Linked DNA regions of Homo sapiens: all the other regions are linked to region 2. Evidence: promoter capture Hi-C in 16 types of primary human blood cells and fetal thymus (Javierre and others, 2016). All regions are on one chromosome and are shown on one strand. Each heading gives the region's core, a stretch centred on a gene start or on the middle of the fragment in contact. The rest is flanking DNA. Distances are from core to core; before and after follow the strand shown. Region 1 holds the start of FASTKD2 (FAST kinase domains 2). Region 2 holds the start of TYW5 (tRNA-yW synthesizing protein 5). Region 3 holds the start of INO80D (INO80 complex subunit D).

What was found. The method cuts DNA at HindIII sites, captures the fragments that hold promoters and counts their contacts. A CHiCAGO score of 5 or more calls a contact.
Region 1: a fragment that was not itself captured here is called in contact with the fragment with the promoter of TYW5 in region 2 in 1 of 17 cell types (non-activated CD4 T cells); the score reaches 5.4 in non-activated CD4 T cells.
Region 3: the fragment with the promoter of INO80D here is called in contact with the fragment with the promoter of TYW5 in region 2 in 5 of 17 cell types (naive CD8 T cells, total CD4 T cells, total B cells and 2 more); the score reaches 10.9 in naive CD8 T cells.

The regions. Positions count from the first base shown.
Region 1 is chr2:206,765,433-206,768,174 of GRCh38, reverse strand. FASTKD2 (FAST kinase domains 2) reads right to left here and starts at 2,569. Exons shown (of 12, transcript NM_001136193.2): 1 at 2,428-2,569; 2 at 705-1,531. The coding sequence starts at 1,481. RefSeq lists an enhancer at 2,299-2,678. The HindIII fragment of the contact is 1,030 bases long and covers 761-1,790 here.
Region 2 is chr2:199,954,151-199,956,850 of GRCh38, reverse strand. TYW5 (tRNA-yW synthesizing protein 5) reads left to right here and starts at 1,360. Exons shown (of 8, transcript NM_001039693.3): 1 at 1,360-1,458. The coding sequence starts at 1,381. MAIP1 (matrix AAA peptidase interacting protein 1) reads right to left here and starts at 1,269. Exons shown (of 5, transcript NM_001394955.1): 1 at 603-1,269. The coding sequence starts at 1,052. RefSeq lists enhancers at 837-936, 957-1,116, 1,287-1,406, 517-1,716. The HindIII fragment of the contact is 7,808 bases long and covers 445-2,700 here.
Region 3 is chr2:206,084,876-206,087,575 of GRCh38, reverse strand. It overlaps INO80D (INO80 complex subunit D), which reads left to right and starts at 1,402. Exons shown (of 11, transcript NM_017759.5): 1 at 1,402-1,675. It overlaps INO80D-AS1 (INO80D antisense RNA 1), which reads right to left. Exons shown (of 2, transcript NR_186084.1): 2 at 72-1,619. RefSeq lists enhancers at 1,146-1,255, 1,266-1,315, 820-1,639, 1,366-1,655 and silencers at 1,706-1,915, 1,996-2,165, 2,186-2,385, 2,426-2,475, 2,377-2,671. The HindIII fragment of the contact is 4,007 bases long and covers 310-2,700 here.

The DNA.
Region 1 (2,742 bases), core at 26-2,525, 6.8 Mb before region 2:
TAAAATTCTTCAACGGATTCCCATTGCCTACAGGATAAATGCATACTCCTTAGCTAGCCGTAAGAGGCTCTTTATGATTTGGTTCCTATTTTTCTGGCCTCTTGTTCTGCCCCTAAGCCTCTTGCCCCTCACTCCTCTCCTTTGATCGCCATGTACAAAACTTGTTCCCACCCACTCAAACATACAACTCCATCATTCTGTGCTTCAGCTACACCAAACTACTTTCAGCTCTTCAAATTTGCCAAACTTTTCCTCTGGGAACAGTAGGGCATGCAATCCTCTCTACTTGAAACACCATCCCCTTCACTATCATTCTGCTCATCAGTTTAGGTATCATCTACTGGGCCTGAATTCCAATTCTACCATGGACTAAATTCTCTTCCTTCCCCTTCCCTTCTCTCCTTCTTCAACTACCCAGGCTTTCTTTGTATATCTTGCATCTCTCCTCACTTTAGCTTCTTCACCACTACTCAACCCTGGGGATGGTAAATGTGGAAGGCTTTCATAAATTTCCATAGCAAAAGGAAGAAAATAGCTAACTTAAGGCCTCTAAATCATATAATATATATGCAGAAATAAATATAAAGGAAACTACCATTCCATTTGATAGTCTCTTTTAAGAAGGCTACATATCTATATCCCTTCATTCTTTCAAAATATTCTAAATCAAGTAAATGCATGTTTAAATCTCCTTTTTATTTTACCTGGGTCACCCTCAGCAAAGTCTGCACCAAAATAGTGTTCTGAGGGATTCCAAGCTTCACTATGGCGTGAAGACTGAACAGTAGGTACTTATACTGCATGATCTTGGCTTCTCTCATCATATGTTCACAGAGCTGATTAAATGCAGGGTGGCTAAACATCAGTCGTTTTTCAAAGCGCTTCTGGTCATCAGACAGTCTTTTGGCAATTGTCCACATTGCTGTGAAATAGTTGCTACTAGGAAATGTGGGCGCTTTTGAAAATGCATCTAACACATCACTCAGGGAATTACATTCCTCAGACAGTTTTCTACTGCTGATACGGTTTGGTTTTGTTTCCTTGGTAAGAACATCTTCATTGGAGACTTCATGATTAAGGTTTACTTTCTTCAATTCATCATCAGATTTATCAACAGGGACAAGAGACTGCTTTGAGTCAAAAAACAGTCTTTTAGCATAAAGTAGTCTTTCAATTCTAAGGGCTGTTAGAGTGCTTATGCCCTTTGTTTGAAAGCCAACATCTGATTTAAAAATGAATGCATCCTGAAAGAGATATCTAATGATATCAGTTGATTGCATTCTGTTATGAAAGTTATTTAAAATGTTCCAGTTTGAATGAACTATTTTTGGTTTGCAAAGTCCCAAACAACATAGCCTCATAGTTCTGCTTGTTGAAACTAATGTACTGAATTGTCTAAGGTTCCAGAAAAAGGAGCCCGCTTTGTTATTCATTTTGCTCTCCACTGAAACACTTCCAAATGGCTTCAAAGTTGTCAACATGAAACCAACGTCACTTCTACTAGTGAAAAAGAACACGTGCTGTCGTTTTCCTGTAGGGGAAGAAGTAATGAAAAGAATAAAAATTAAAACAAAACTTTTACTTAAAGAAATGAAATGCATTTAACAGAAGAGAAAATGGGGAACCTATGGAGCCATTAAACATTTACATAAAACAGTAAAAGTTTTTTTTACCAATGTGGGCTCCCTCCAATCTACCACAATGTGTCCAGTTTCAAAGAAGCCAGGTCACTTTGGAAGTAGTCATTGTATTAATGAGATTTTTCTGGTGCAAAAGCGTTCCATAAAGCTTTCTCTGTAGGAGAGACTTTTGTTGGCATTGTTATGGAAATGTCCTCGGTGAAAATTAGGGGATTAGCATTGATAGATCATTTTCTTTTCTCTTCTCTGTTTTTTTTTTTTTTTTTTTTTTTTTTGAGACAAAGTCTTGCTATGTCCCCCAGGCTAGAGTGCAGTGGCGCGATCTTGGCTCACTGCAACCTCCACCTCCCAGGTTCAAGCAATTCTCCTGTCTCAGCCTCCCAAGTAGCTGGGATTACAGGCGTATGCCACCACGCCCGGCTAATTTTTGTATTTTTTGTAAAGACGGAGTTTCACCATGTTGGCCAGGCTGGTCCTGAACTCCTGACCTCAGGTAATCCACCCGCCTCGGCCTCCCAAGGCGTGAGTCACCGCGCCCGGCTGATAGATCATTTTCAACATGACGATTTAGCAACGGCCGAACCCAGACCATCAAGAATAGGGACCTGGGCAGGTAGAACGGCTCAGTGGAAGAAGCAGAAAACGAAAGCGATGTCTGCACGTGGCCTGCGCTTAAGAGGAAGATCTTATACAACCAGCCAGCCTCACCAGACCCCAGAACCAACTTCAAGAGCCTGTCCTTCCGCAGCTGGGCCGCCCAGCATTAACCCACCTCCTTTAAACTTACTTCCAGGACAACTCGTGAGACTCTTCTCCTCGAAGTAAAAAGTCTAGGATGTGATACGGGCTGCCGCTAAGCCCAAGCTCGTCCTCCACTCACCTTAGAGCACAAGACCGTGACTACGTACAGGAGCAGCCATGACAGCTTCCCCGAGAAGCTGCGCTTCTCACGAGATCTTACGGATTCCCTCAAAGGTCAAAAAGCATATGTTCGCGGCTGTAGCTGAAGGACTTACTTGAAGAAAGTTTACCAAGGAGAATGACTAATTTCCCTGCATACAGGAGTGGGGCTCGGGGATACCACAGAGCTTATAAGGGCGAT
Region 2 (2,700 bases), core at 111-2,610:
AATCCTTTGAAAGGGTAAAATTGCTCATCTCCAGTTTAATCTTTACGGAGTATGGGGTGGTGTATTGGTCGGCTCTGTCTAATAGCTGGCAGGAAGTTCTGCTCTTCTACCCAAGGTGACATTACAGCACTTTGGAAATGTTATCTCAATTATTCTTCAATCTTACCCATTTATTAATGTATTCAGCAAACATTCATGGAGTGCCTACTATGTGCCAGGCATTGTCTTGCCCACTTTGTAAATTTGAAAATTATGTTCAGACAAGATGAGCCATATAGCTTTTTCTTTCTGAGACAGGGCCTGGCTCTGTATCCCAGGCTGGAGTGCAATGGCACGATCACAGCTCACTACAACGTCCAACTCCTGGGTTCAAGCGATCCTCCCCTTCAGCCTCCCAAGTAGCTGAGACTACAGGCGTGTACCACCATTCCCGGCCCAGAAGCTTACTTTAAGTCAAGCAATGGCTGGAAGGCTCTATGTCTGGGCCACTAATCACGTTTGATCACTTGTATCCCAGTGAAGAAAACTCACTGCTAAGCACTTCTGCGAGCAATAGTTGAACTCATTAGAGACGGATAGGTCAATCAGGGAAATAAACAAACCTGCTTCGCTCCCTCGGAGAACTCTGTGATGCTGAACTCTTTGTCGAAATAGGCCCAGATAAGGAAGGCCTTAATTCGAGTCCTAACCCAGTTGATGGGGTTGGAGAATCCCAGGACGATCATCTTGGTTTTCTGGTGCTGCTGGGGCTTCTCCTCCGTGCTGTAGCTGCGCTGAGGGCAGGCAGGGAAAGAAGCGAAGGCTGCGGGGAGTCCCGGGCTGCTGAGCACTGGCCACCGGGAGCCCTGGGCAGGTAGCGCCGAGGCTGCCAAGGCCCTAGCGCTTCGTGGAAATAACGCCGCTCCCAAGCCGAGGCGACAGCGGCAGAAGTAGCAAAGTGTGGCCGACGGCAGCCTCACCTCGGCCACAGCAGGAGTCCGGAGTCGGACGGCCCCGCAGGGCAGCGACCGAGAGTGCAGGAACTGGGGTAGCAAACGAGCGGCCAGCGCCATTTTTATGACCCTTCACACCGGTGCCTGCCGGTGCTGTATGGAAAGGAAGTCGGTGGGAAACCGCCTCAGCGGTGTCGGAGAAAGAGACTGGAGAGCAAAGTGGACCTGTTGCTGCAGCCTCTGGTGAGTCGGCCCCGTCCCCGCTCTCCAGCACGCAGCCCAGGCCGAGGCCCTTCGGCAACCCGCCCCGCGCTCGGACCCAGCCACTCTGGAGTCTGCCGGCCTCGCGGACCTTTTCTCTGTCGCTCGTGTTTCCGGGCGGATGGCGCTGAGGAACGCTTTAGAGCCGAAGTTCCGAAGACCTGGAAGAGGGCAGGCGTGAGCAACCATGGCCGGGCAGCACCTCCCGGTACCCCGGCTGGAGGGCGTTTCTCGGGAGCAGTTCATGCAGCACCTCTACCCACAGGTGAGGCCCTCGCGCGGGGCAGAACCTCGAGAAACCAGCGAGAGACACGTCTTTACCTTTCGGACAGCTGGGAACTGGTTTTTAGAGACCCAGGGTGTGGGAAAGAGGCGCAGGACGGCAGCAGATCACTGGTTGGCCCTTAGACCAAGGGAAAGGTGCACGGGGGACGCCGACTGGCTCCTCTATTGAAATTTCCGGAGAAAGTCCCATGTTTCTGGGGAGCAAGATGATGGCGGAGAGCTGAGTGCGAGAGGTATTTTGCCTAAACTCTTTACTCCGCATCTGTCAGTCTGCTCCGAATTAATGGATTTGAAGGCACAACTTTTCACTCCACTGAGCCAAAAAGGAAAGCAATGGGATTCCCCCGGAAAACTCCTACTCGTCTTGAATTCTAACTTACTTAGGTTCTAGTTCCGACATTGGAGTCTTTTATACCTGTAGTTAGAACCTTAGGTCTTTAAAAGAAAACTCATAGAGAAATATTAGGGAAACAAAAAGTGCTTTTACTTGCAGTGCTTTTCAAGGGAGTCCAGACCTAAGAAAAACAAGGTATTAAAAGGAAAAATCCACAGGATTACAGTAAGTCAGTTTATGGTAGGAAAAATACCCAGCAATTTTCTTACCTGATATTTACATTTATAAGGGTGGTCATAGAATTACAGTTCTGGGGCCGGGCGCGGTGGCTCACGCCTGTAATCCCAGCACTTTGCGAGGCCGAGGCGGACGGATCACCGGAGGTCAGGAGTTCAAGACCAGCCAGTAGAAATCCCATCTCTACTAAAAATACAAAATTAGCCGGGCATGGTGGTGGCCCATACCTGTAATCCCAGCTACTCGGGAGGCTGAGGCAGGAGAATCGCTTGAACCCGGGAGGCGGAGGTTGCAGTGAGCCGAGATCGCGCCACTGCACTCCAGCCTGGGCAACAAGAGCTAAACTCGGTCTCAAACAAACAAACAAAACTACAATTCTGAGTGTTACAAAAGTCGGATGGGCTGGGCGCCGTGGTTCATGCCAGTAATCCTAACATTTTGGGAGGCCCAGGTCGGTGGATCACTTGAGGTCAGGAGTTCAAGACCAGCCTGGCCAATATGGTGAATCCCCGTCTGTACAAAAAATACAAAAATTAGCCGGGCGTGGTGGCGCACGCCTGTATTCCCAGCTACTCTGGAGGCTGAGGTCGGAGGATCTGCTTGAGCCCGGGAGGTCGAGGCTGCAGTGATCCATGATCCTGCCACTGCTCC
Region 3 (2,700 bases), core at 153-2,652, 6.1 Mb before region 2:
CAAAGAAATTAAATATTCTACTGATTCAGGGCACTAATATAACAAATTCATTCCTGCCAGGTTAGTCAACATGTGTTAGAAAAATAACTTTTAATACAAGATTTAAATCATCATCCCCAGTAGAACATACAAAGATAGTCGGTTCTTTTTCTATTATTTTTCTCTTTCTTCACAAAAATAGAAAAATGTCTCTGCAATTTATCCTCCAATAAGCGTTCTATTGGAATCGATGTAAATGGGTACCCTTTGTCCCTCTCACCTCTGTGCTAACAGCATTGTTTAACTCTGATCCCATTTATCTAGTAAGCTTTGCTCATTTAAAAAAGTAAATTCATGACATCCACTGCAATATACAAAAAGTCTATCATACAGGCTGGCAGCACATTGGAAGTTCTGAACTAACATAACTAACAAAAATAGCCACATTTCTCAATTCTGTGACACAAAAAGCAGATAGCAACATGTGTAATGCACCAAAGATCTAGCTAGAGTTTAAAGAATCTAAATAAATAAAAAAATTAAATGCCCGGATATAATTCTTAATAAGCTATTTTACCTCAAGAAAAATCTAAGGCTGTCTTTAAAATCTCTTTCCAGTTTTACTGTATCCTTTCTGTATGGGCAGCATAACAGAATTTCCAGAAACAGGGGCCGTTTTTAAATCCCCAGTGATAGCTGCCTTTATCTGCACTGTGGAAAATGACACACTGTATCATGCCTTTCTGGACAGTCCATAGGTTTTATTTACATTGCTTTGAGAAACAGACGAAAGACATGTTTTTTTACAATTGTCTTACAGCAATCTGTTCTGAGAGTAACATGTAACACAAATTTTTATATGCAATATATGAAAACATAAATATTTATATATACAATAACATAACCAGACAAATAAATGAAGTTACTATTAAGTCTCTTTAAGTATAAATTTACAAACTGACCACCAGCCACAGAACTTAGCCCTGTAATGGAGAAAAATTATTACTGGCTTAAAAAAATATTAAAATATCACTGTCACTAACATGAAAAAAATTAAAAACAGAAAATAAAAAACAATAACCACCGGAAAACCTGTGTCTTGTAAAGATTTCTTTCCATCAGAAGATGCAGAAACATTTTTCCCCCTGGAGCAAATGAAAACGTTTCTCATGCACCCCCCGTTTCTTCCCTGCTTTCTCCCCCAGGCGCGGGTGTAGACGGCCGGTGTGGACTTTTTTCCAGAGATGAGAAGTAAAAATTTGTACTTTATCGGGAGCGGGTGCACTTTTCCCCCTGGCCCCCCTTTGCTCTGCCTCCAAGATGGTAGGAAAGTTGTCGTTTCGGAGGGCAGAGGAGCAGCTCTCTGGTGTTATGTCCTCGCAGTGCCTGTAGTGGTGCTGTAGGAGGCTGCTGCCTCTTCTTGTACAGCCCCGGCAGCCCTGCCTTCTTGGCTGGAGAGTATATTCAGGGATTTCCCCTTAATAATCACCGACCCTGGGAGCACTTTTTAGTTTCCAAAATAAAAATATGATCCTCACCCCTCTTGCTTGACAGGGAAAGGCTCTCGCCGGAGCCCAGGGGGGAGCAGTAGCAGCGGCAGCCGAGCTTCCTAGTCCATTGCCAGCGCCTCTCACTCTGATCTGTCAGCCCAGCCGAGGGAACAGGGGGGAAGGAGAAAAAAAAAAGCAGCTGAAAGGTAAGCAGAGGCGGCCCCAGGCCCGGCCCACATCCCCGGGCTCCCGTAGGGCGGCGGGCTGGGCCGCGCAGGCTGGGCGGGCGGCGAGCGCGCTTACGTGAGGCCGGGGATTCGCCGGCCCACGCCAGGCCCCGGGCGGAGAATGAAAGGGTGAGTGGGGCCGGCGCCCGGGTGGTGGAGGCCGGGGGCCTGAGGGCCTCCGGGGCGCCCGCGGGCGGCGACGGCGGGCGGGCAGGGGTCCAGCCGGAGCCGGAGTGGGGCGAGCGGAGCGGCCTGCGCGGGCCAGGTGGGGGTGTGCGGCGGGAGGGGGGGGCGCCGGTAGGCCTCGGGCCGGTAGGCCCCACGGCAGCCGCGCCCTGCCCCCGCACCCCGGGCCTCCGCGCGCCCCCTCGAGTCCCCCGGGGTCTCCGGGTGGGACGGCGGCGCTGCTGGGCCGAATCCCGCGCCGGCCCGGAGGCTTTCCCGCGGGGCGGCAGGCCCGGGCTGCCGGGACAGGGGCGTCAGGGCCTAGGAGTGGGGAGTGGGGAATGGGCGCCCGGCTCCCCTTCCCCCGGGTCTCTCGCAGACGGCCCCCAGATTCCGGTAAGAGTTGAATTTATTTATCCCCCTCCTCCGCGCTCCGGACGGCCAGGCCGGGGCGGGGCGGGGCGGGCGGCCTGGCGGGCGTGGGGTCGGGTGGAGGGGCGGTGAGGAGTCAGGTGCAGCCGCGGCCCAGAAAGTTTCCTTTTAGGCCCGAACTGGGGGCCGCTGTCTCTCCGGGGAGCCCTGGTCCTAGCGCCCGGGACCCCCCAGGGCGTGGGGGAGCGCACTCGGCTATTTTGAAACTCTTTGCCAGTTCCTGTCCATTGAAGAAGGTACTCCGCCCCTGCACCCCTCGCCCGCGCCCCACCCAACTCCCCGCGAGCCCATTCGGGGCTGCTAACTCCAGCCCCTTCCCCCTAGAGCCCCCCAGGTTGGGGAGAGGGCCTTCTCTTCCGGTTTGGAAAAGTTTGCAAGGGGCTTTTCTTAGCTTTATTAGTTAGTGA